Linked DNA regions of Homo sapiens: region 1 is linked to region 2. Evidence: promoter capture Hi-C in human tissues and cell types (Jung and others, 2019). All regions are on one chromosome and are shown on one strand. Each heading gives the region's core, a stretch centred on a gene start or on the middle of the fragment in contact. The rest is flanking DNA. Distances are from core to core; before and after follow the strand shown.

Region 1 (4,335 bases), core at 10-2,509, 320 kb after region 2:
TATAAGTAAGTCCTCAAGTCCATGGAAGATTTTAGCTTTCCATGTGAAAGAATCTTCTACAAATCTTTGGCTAGCTGTTTTCACCTCAGAGGTAGCTCAGCCAAGAAGTCTCCTTCCAGATTGTGACCTATTAATTTCTGTGTGTGTGTGGCATCTGGATCTTTTTAAAGCTTCTTAGGCTGAGCCGGGTGTGGTGGCTCACTCCTATAATCCCAGCACTTTGGGATGCCAGGGCGGAAGGATCACTTGAGCCCAGGAATTTTATACCAGCCTGGGCAACATAGTGAGACCCTGTTTCTGCAAAACAAAAAATTAAAAATTAGCGGGGCGTGGTGGTGCATGCCTGTGGTCCCATCCACTAGGGAGTCTGAGGCGGGAGGATCACTTGAGCCCAGGAGGTCAAGGCTGCAGTGAGCTATGATTGCGCCCCTGCACTTCATCCTGGGCAAAAAAGGAGACCCTGTCTCAAAAAATAAAAAATAAAAAAAGGTTAAATGTTTCTAGAAGCAAATCTCTGGTTTGGTGCCTAACATAGTCCAGCATACAGTAGGCGCTCTATCTTTTGCCCTTAACCCTTCTGAGCCTCCCCACCCAGATGCTGTCCTCAAACCCTTTGTCAAAAGAGGTGTCTGGGCAGCTGGCGATGCTCATTCCCCAGGCACAGACTTCTGGGAAGGCAGAGGCCAGTGGCTGGCTGTACGGGTGAGGCCTTGGGCCGCTGCAGCCCTTGGGGACTTGGCCAGTGTCCGGAAGCTGTGGGGGCTGGGTGGCATTTGATGTCCTGGCACCAGCACTGTGACTGGGCAGGCTGTGGCAGTTCTCTTATCGCCCACGCCCACTGCACTTGGGTGGGTCAGCCGTCACAGCCAGCAAGGCTGGCACCCGAAGGCTGCCTCTCCCAATCCTGGCCTTGTCCAACAGCTCAATTTTCCCAATTTTTCTTCCACACCATTGCCGCAACGTTATCTCTGCTTCTCCCAGTACCTGCCAAGGAAAAGGCCTGGGTTGGCTCCAGCAGGGCGTTGGTTTGACTCCTGGCTGTGCTCCTCACCAGCTGTGTGGCCCGAGCAAGCAACCTCAGTGTGCCCGTCGTGAAATGGGATCACACTAATGGTTAGTGGGGATTGGAGAAGTTTTTGTTTTGTTATTTTTATTTGTTTGGTTTTGGTTTTTTAGAGACAGTGTTTTCTGTCATCCAGGCTGGAGTGCAGTGGCGTGATCACAGCTCACTGCAGCCTCTGCCTCCCGGGCTCAAGCGATTCTCCCACCTCAGCCTCCTGAGTAGCTGGGACCACAGGCATGCACCACCACACCCAGATAATATAGTTATTTTTTACTTTTTATTTTCTTTCTTTTTTTTTTTTGAGATGGAGTCTTGCTCTGTCACCCAGGCTAGAGTGCAGTGGCGCAATCTTGGCTTGCCACAACCTCTGCCTCCTGGGTTCAAGTGATTCTCCTGCCTCAGCCTCCCGAGTAGCTGGGACTACAGGCGCCCACCACTATGCCCGGCTAATTTTTTGTATTTTTAGTAGACATGGGGTTTCACCACGTTGGACAGGCTGGTCTCAAACTCCTGACCTCAAGTAATCTGCCTGCCTTGACTTCCCAAAGTGCTGGGATTACAGGTGTAAGCCACTGCGCCTGGCCAAGTTGAAGACTTTGGCTGGGTGTAGTGGCTCATGCCTGTAGTTCAAGCACTTTGGGAGGCTAAGGCAGGAGGACTGCTTGAACCCAGGACTTTGAGACCAGCCTGGGCAACATAGTGAGACCCCGTCTCTTTAAGAAAAATGGAAGAGGGTGGTAGCAGAGTCAGAGGAGGACATGGAACGACGGAAGCGAGGTGGGTTTGATGTGATTGCTGTCTTTAAAAATGGAAGAAGTGGCCAGGAGCCAAGGAATGTGGGCGGCCTCTAGAAGGTGAAACAGACAAGGAAACAGATTTTCCCCTAAAATCTCCGAAAGAAACAGCCCTGCCTACACATCGATTGTAGCCCAGTGAGATGCATTTTGTGCTTCTGTCCTCCTGAGCTGTGAGATAATAAATTTGTGGTTTTTATTTATTATTATTATTATTATTTTTGAGACGAGTTTTGCTCTTGTTGCCCAGGCTGGAGTGCAGTGATGCGATCTTGGCTCACTGCAACCTCTGCTTCCTGGTTTCAAGCAATTCTACTGCCTCAGCCTCCTGAGTAGCTGGAATTACAGGTGCACACCACCACGCCCAGCTAATTTTTTGTATTTTTAGTAGAGATGGGGTTTCACCACGTTGGCCACGCTGGTCTGAAGCTCCTGACCTCAGGTGATCCACCTGCCTCGGCCTCCCAAAGTGCAGGGATTACAGGCATGAGCCACCGCACCCGTCCATAAATTTGTGTTTTTTTAAGCCACCAAGGCATTGGTGTCTTGTTACAGCAACGAAAGGAAATAATGCATTTGACCCTCAAACCACATGGGTGTGAGGGGCACCAACCCCCTGTGAAATTAGAAATCTGTGTATGCCTTAAGTTTTTGTAGAGACAGGGTTGTGATCTGTTGATCAGGCTGGTCTCCAACTCCTGGCCTCAAGAGATCCTCCCACCTCAGCCTCCCAAAATGCTGGGATTGCAGGCATGAGTCACCATGCCCGGCCTGCATATAACTGCATATAAGTCCCCCAAAACTTAATTAGTGATAGCCTACTGTTGACTCTTAGCCTTACGGACAACATATCAACATACACATATTGTGTCTCTGTATTATATATATCGTATTCTTACAATAAAGTAAGCTGAAGAAAAGAAAATGTGGCTGGGCGCGGTGGCTCACGCCGATAATCCCAGCACTTTGGGAGGCTGAGGCGGGCGGATCACCCGAGGTCAGGAGTTTGAGACCAACCTGGCCAACATGGTGAAACCACGTCTCTATTAAAAATACAAAAATTAGCCGGACATGGTGGTGCGTGCCTGTAATCCCAGGTACTTGGGAGGCTGAGGCAGGAGAATCTCTTGAACCCGGGAGGTAGAGGTCACAGTGAGCCAAGATTGCGCCACTGCACTCCAGCCTGGGTGACAGAATGAGACTCCGTCTCAAAAAAAAAAAAAAAAAAGAAGAAGAAAAGAAAAGAAAATGTTATTAAGTTGGTGCAAAAGTAATTGCGTTTTTTTTTTTTGCCATTCCTTTTAAGGGAAAAAATATTAAAATGTAAGGAAAAGAAAATACATTTATTATTTATTAAGTGGAAGTGGATCATCAAAAAGGTTTTCAGAGGCTGGGCGTGGTGGCTCACACCTGTAATCATAGCACTTTGGGAGGCCAAGGCAGGTGGATCATTTGAGGTCAGGACTTCAAGACAAGCCTGGCCAACATGGTGAAAATCCTGTCTCTACCAAAAATAAAAAAAAAAATTAGGGGCCAGGTGCAGTGGCTCATGCCTGTAATCCCAGCACTTTGGGAGGCCAAGGTGGGAGGATCACTTGAGGTCAGGAGTTTGAGACCAGCCTGGCCAACATGGTGAAACCCCATTTCTACTAAAAATACAAAAATTAGCCAGGCATGGTGGCTCACACCTGAAGTCCCCGCTACTCGGGAGGCTGAGGCACAAGAGTCGCTTAAACCCGGGAGGCGGAAGTTGCCGTGAGCCGAGATCACACCAGTGCGCTCCAGCCTGGGCAACAGAGGGAGACTCCGTCTCAAAAAAAAAAAAAATGGTCTTCACATTGAGTGAGCTGAGGAGGAAGAGGAAGAGGAAGGGGAGGGGTTGGTCTTGCTGTCTCAGGGGTAACAGAGGCAGAAGAAAAATTGTGTTTAAGGGGAACCATGAAGCTCAAACCTGTGTTGTTGGAAGGTTAACTGTCCAAACATTGACTTGGGAGCTGGACAGCTTGGGTCTGCTGATTGAAATCTTTCACACCATGGGCACCTTCTTTCTCTCTAGGCCTCAGTTGATCTGTCTGTCAAATGGGGATAATGATAGGAGGTGCTGTAAAGATGAAATGAGGCGGGCTGGACATGGTGGCTCACACCTGTGATCCCAGCACTTTGGGCGGCCAAAGCGGGATTGCCTGAGCCAAGGATTTAGAGACCAGCCTGGGCAACATAGCGAAACCCTGTCTCTACCAAAAATACAAAAATTAGCCGGGCATGGTGACATGTGCCAGCTGAGGTGGAAGATCACTTGAGCCCTGGAGGTCGTGGCTGCAGTGAGCCAAGATGGTGCCACTGCTTTCCAGCCTGGGTGACAGTGAGACCCTGTCTCCAAAGAAAAAAAAAAAAAAGGATGAAATGAGGTGAACCATGTAACATTTTATTATTATGTTTATTTATTTATTGAAACAGAGTGAAACTGTGTTCAATATA
Region 2 (4,430 bases), core at 1,931-4,430:
TGGGTCTCTAGTGAAAACTAAAGACTCCTCTCCAGAAAAAAACATTTGGTTTCTAATGAGGCCTGGAATCTTATTCTTGACCTGGGGAGCGGAATCCCTTTTTGCAGTACTCCCGGGCCCTCTGTTGGGGCCTCCCCTTCCTCTCCAGGGTGGAGTCGAGGAGGCGGGGCTGCGGGCCTCCTTATCTCTAGAGCCGGCCCTGGCTCTCTGGCGCGGGGCCCCTTAGTCCGGGCTTTTTGCCATGGGGTCTCTGTTCCCTCTGTCGCTGCTGTTTTTTTTGGCGGCCGCCTACCCGGGAGTTGGGAGCGCGCTGGGACGCCGGACTAAGCGGGCGCAAAGCCCCAAGGGTAGCCCTCTCGCGCCCTCCGGGACCTCAGTGCCCTTCTGGGTGCGCATGAGCCCGGAGTTCGTGGCTGTGCAGCCGGGGAAGTCAGTGCAGCTCAATTGCAGCAACAGCTGTCCCCAGCCGCAGAATTCCAGCCTCCGCACCCCGCTGCGGCAAGGCAAGACGCTCAGAGGGCCGGGTTGGGTGTCTTACCAGCTGCTCGACGTGAGGGCCTGGAGCTCCCTCGCGCACTGCCTCGTGACCTGCGCAGGAAAAACACGCTGGGCCACCTCCAGGATCACCGCCTACAGTGAGGGACAGGGGCTCGGTCCCGGCTGGGGTGAGGGGAGGGGGCTGGAAGAGGTGGGGGAAGGGTAGTTGACAGTCGCTCTATAGGGAGCGCCCGCGGACCTCACTCAGAGGCTCCCCCTTGCCTTAGAACCGCCCCACAGCGTGATTTTGGAGCCTCCGGTCTTAAAGGGCAGGAAATACACTTTGCGCTGCCACGTGACGCAGGTGTTCCCGGTGGGCTACTTGGTGGTGACCCTGAGGCATGGAAGCCGGGTCATCTATTCCGAAAGCCTGGAGCGCTTCACCGGCCTGGATCTGGCCAACGTGACCTTGACCTACGAGTTTGCTGCTGGACCCCGCGACTTCTGGCAGCCCGTGATCTGCCACGCGCGCCTCAATCTCGACGGCCTGGTGGTCCGCAACAGCTCGGCACCCATTACACTGATGCTCGGTGAGGCACCCCTGTAACCCTGGGGACTAGGAGGAAGGGGGCAGAGAGAGTTATGACCCCGAGAGGGCGCACAGACCAAGCGTGAGCTCCACGCGGGTCGACAGACCTCCCTGTGTTCCGTTCCTAATTCTCGCCTTCTGCTCCCAGCTTGGAGCCCCGCGCCCACAGCTTTGGCCTCCGGTTCCATCGCTGCCCTTGTAGGGATCCTCCTCACTGTGGGCGCTGCGTACCTATGCAAGTGCCTAGCTATGAAGTCCCAGGCGTAAAGGGGGATGTTCTATGCCGGCTGAGCGAGAAAAAGAGGAATATGAAACAATCTGGGGAAATGGCCATACATGGTGGCTGACGCCTGTAATCCCAGCACTTTGGGAGGCCGAGGCAGGAGAATCGCTTGAGCCCAGGAGTTCGAGACCAGCCTGGACAACATAGTGAGACCCCGTCTATGCAAAAAATACACAAATTAGCCTGGTGTGGTGGCCCGCACCTGTGGTCCCAGCTACCCGGGAGGCTGAGTTGGGAGGATCCTTTGAGCCCTGAAAGTCGAGGTTGCAGTGAGCCTTGATCGTGCCACTGCACTCCAGCCTGGGGGACAGAGCACGACCCTGTCTCCAAAAATAAAATAAAAATAAAAATAAATATTGGCGGGGGAACCCTCTGGAATCAATAAAGGCTTCCTTAACCAGCCTCTGTCCTGTGACCTAAGGGTCCGCATTACTGCCCTTCTTCGGAGGAACTGGTTTGTTTTTGTTGTTGTTGTTGTTTTTGCGATCACTTTCTCCAAGTTCCTTGTCTCCCTGAGGGCACCTGAGGTTTCCTCACTCAGGGCCCACCTGGGGTCCCGAAGCCCCAGACTCTGTGTATCCCCAGCGGGTGTCACAGAAACCTCTCCTTCTGCTGGCCTTATCGAGTGGGATCAGCGCGGGCCGGGGAGAGCCACGGGCAGGGGCGGGGTGGGGTTCATGGTATGGCTTTCCTGATTGGCGCCGCCGCCACCACGCGGCAGCTCTGATTGGATGTTAAGTTTCCTATCCCAGCCCCACCTTCAGACCCTGTGCTTTCCTGGAGGCCAAACAACTGTGGAGCGAGAACTCATCTCCAAAATAACTTACCACGCTGGAGTGAGACCACGAATGGTGGGGAGGGGAGGGTCCCACGGACATATTGAGGGACGTGGATACGCAGAAGAGGTATCCATGTGGTGGCAGCCGGGAAGGGGTGATCAGATGGTCCACAGGGAATATCACAAACTCGAATTCTGACGATGTTCTGGTAGTCACCCAGCCAGATGAGCGCATGGAGTTGGGGGTGGGGGGTGTCAAAGCTTGGGGCCCGGAAGCGGAGTCAAAAGCATCACCCTCGGTCCCTTGTTCTCGCGTGGATGTCAGGGCCCCCACCCACCGAGCAGAAGGCGGACTCAGGGGCGCTCCAGGGTGGCTCGAGCTCACACACGCTGAGTAGACACGTGCCCGCTGCACCCTGGGTAAATACAGACCCGGAGCCGAGCGGATTCTAATTTAGACGCCCGCGAACGCTGCGCGCACGCACACGTGTCCTCGGCTCGCTGGCACTTTCGTCCCGCCCCCTCCGTCGCGTGCGGGAGCTGACCCGGAGGGGTGCTTAGAGGTATGGCTCCGCGGGGTCAAAAGGAGAAGGATCAGTGAGAGAGGCATCCCCACACCCTCCCCTAGAACTGTCCTTTCCCCATCCAGTGCCTCCCAAATCTCTCTTAGTCCCCAAATGTATCCCCGCCCTAAGGGGCGCTGGTGGGAGGAGCTAAATGTGGGGGCGGGGCTCGGAGTCCAGCTTATTATCATGGCATCTCAGCCAGGGCTGGGGTAGGGGTTTGGGAAGGGCAACCCAGCATCCCCCGATCCCAGAGTCGCGGCCGGGGATGACGCGAGAGAGCGTGGTCGCCCCCAGAAGGCCCTGGGCCATCATGCCGGCCTCCACGTAGACCCCAGGGGTCGCTCACTCCTGCCAGCTCGCCTTCACCAAGGCCAGGAGCTTAGCGCACGCTCGCCTCCCGCCCCCCCGCCGCCTCTGCCGCCGCCCCCTCCTTGGAAACCAAGTTACCAACGTTAAACCAATCCCCAAGCGCAACTCTGCCTCCCCCACACCCCACCCGCCGCGCCGCGCGGAGCCGTCCTCTAGCCCAGCTCCTCGGCTCGCGCTCTCCTCGCCTCCTGTGCTTTCCCCGCCGCGGCGATGCCAGGGCCTTCGCCAGGGCTGCGCCGGGCGCTACTCGGCCTCTGGGCTGCTCTGGGCCTGGGGCTCTTCGGCCTCTCAGGTAAGAGCCCCGCTCTGGTTCGGGGTGGACAGGGCGGGGGCGGAGTCCCTGGACCTGAGAAACGGCCTCCTGTCCCTCCCAGCTCTGCCCTCGCCTCGCTCCCACGCCTCTGCCCCCACCTCGAGCCTGAGTCTTCTCCCCTTCCCCCTCCTCCCCAACACACACCCGAGCCCCAGCTTCCTGACTCCTCGATAGCCCCTACCCGCTTCGAGATCCTAGGTGTTCTTCCGCACCCAACCCTTCGCCCTGGAGACCCAGTGTCTCTCCTGTCCGCTCCCCGGGTACCTCCTTACGCTGTGCTGTGCACCATGGTCCACGGACTGGCATCTTCCCCACTCGCGGTCCGCGAAGACTCCATCTCTCCAACTACCCTGACTCAGAGGCGCTGTTCCCGCTCCACCCAGAGCCCTGGCAACCGGGTCCCTCAGCTGTTCCCGCGGTTCCTTCCATGAGCCCAGCCTTGCGTCCCGGCTCCGTGTTCTTCACCGGGTGTAGGGTCCTTCCTGATCCTTGACCCAGCCTCGTCTCTCCTTTGCCCTTGCCGCAAACGCACTCTCCTCGTATCCCGGCATTCTGCCAGGACCCTGAGAACTGGTTCATCCCCCATCCCCCATCCCGGGTCCCCTTCTCTCAGCCTTGCTGTGTTCATCCAAGAACCCACCTTTCCTCTCCTCTACGCCCTCCCCCCATGCTTTCCCGCCGCTCCATCGGCGCTTTGGAGACCATGGCTCTCTGCTACCACGTCCCAGAGACACCCTCGAGGTTTAGACTCTGGGAGTGCGCCTTTAAACCGGAGGCCTGGGCAGGACGCGGGACGCCTGGGTTCTTTCCCTGGCTGCAGCCTCTCCTCCTCCTCCCCGCCCTCTGAGAACCCTTGACTCGACATAGGGGCGCTAAGATGTCAGGGAGTTGGCTCCCCAGGCTCAGCCCGCGTTTCCCTGGGCAGCGGTCTCGCAGGAGCCCTTCTGGGCGGACCTGCAGCCTCGCGTGGCGTTCGTGGAGCGCGGGGGCTCGCTGTGGCTGAATTGCAGCACCAACTGCCCTCGGCCGGAGCGCGGTGGCCTGGAGACCTCGCT

What was found. Contacts are between HindIII fragments. The study calls those that stand out against the background at their distance.
Region 1: a fragment that was not itself captured here is called in contact with the fragment with the promoter of ICAM5 in region 2 in 1 of the 25 tissues and cell types used here (liver).

What each region holds. Positions count from the first base shown.
Region 1 is chr19:10,611,904-10,616,238 of GRCh38, forward strand. It overlaps a transcript of SLC44A2 not described here. Among named protein-coding and RNA genes, the nearest start is that of SLC44A2, 11 kb to the right of the region's middle. The HindIII fragment of the contact is 8,359 bases long and covers 1-4,335 here.
Region 2 is chr19:10,286,772-10,291,201 of GRCh38, forward strand. It overlaps ICAM5 (intercellular adhesion molecule 5), which reads left to right and starts at 3,181. Exons shown (of 11, transcript NM_003259.4): 1 at 3,181-3,354; 2 at 4,301-4,430. The coding sequence starts at 3,273. It overlaps ICAM4-AS1 (ICAM4 antisense RNA 1), which reads right to left and starts at 2,248. Exons shown (of 1, transcript NR_186335.1): 1 at 1-2,248. ICAM4 (intercellular adhesion molecule 4 (Landsteiner-Wiener blood group)) reads left to right here and starts at 184. Exons shown (of 3, transcript NM_001544.5): 1 at 184-635; 2 at 765-1,067; 3 at 1,215-1,749. The coding sequence starts at 242. The coding sequence ends at 1,333. RefSeq lists enhancers at 1-825, 172-311 and a silencer at 2,036-2,105. The HindIII fragment of the contact is 10,372 bases long and covers 1,110-4,430 here.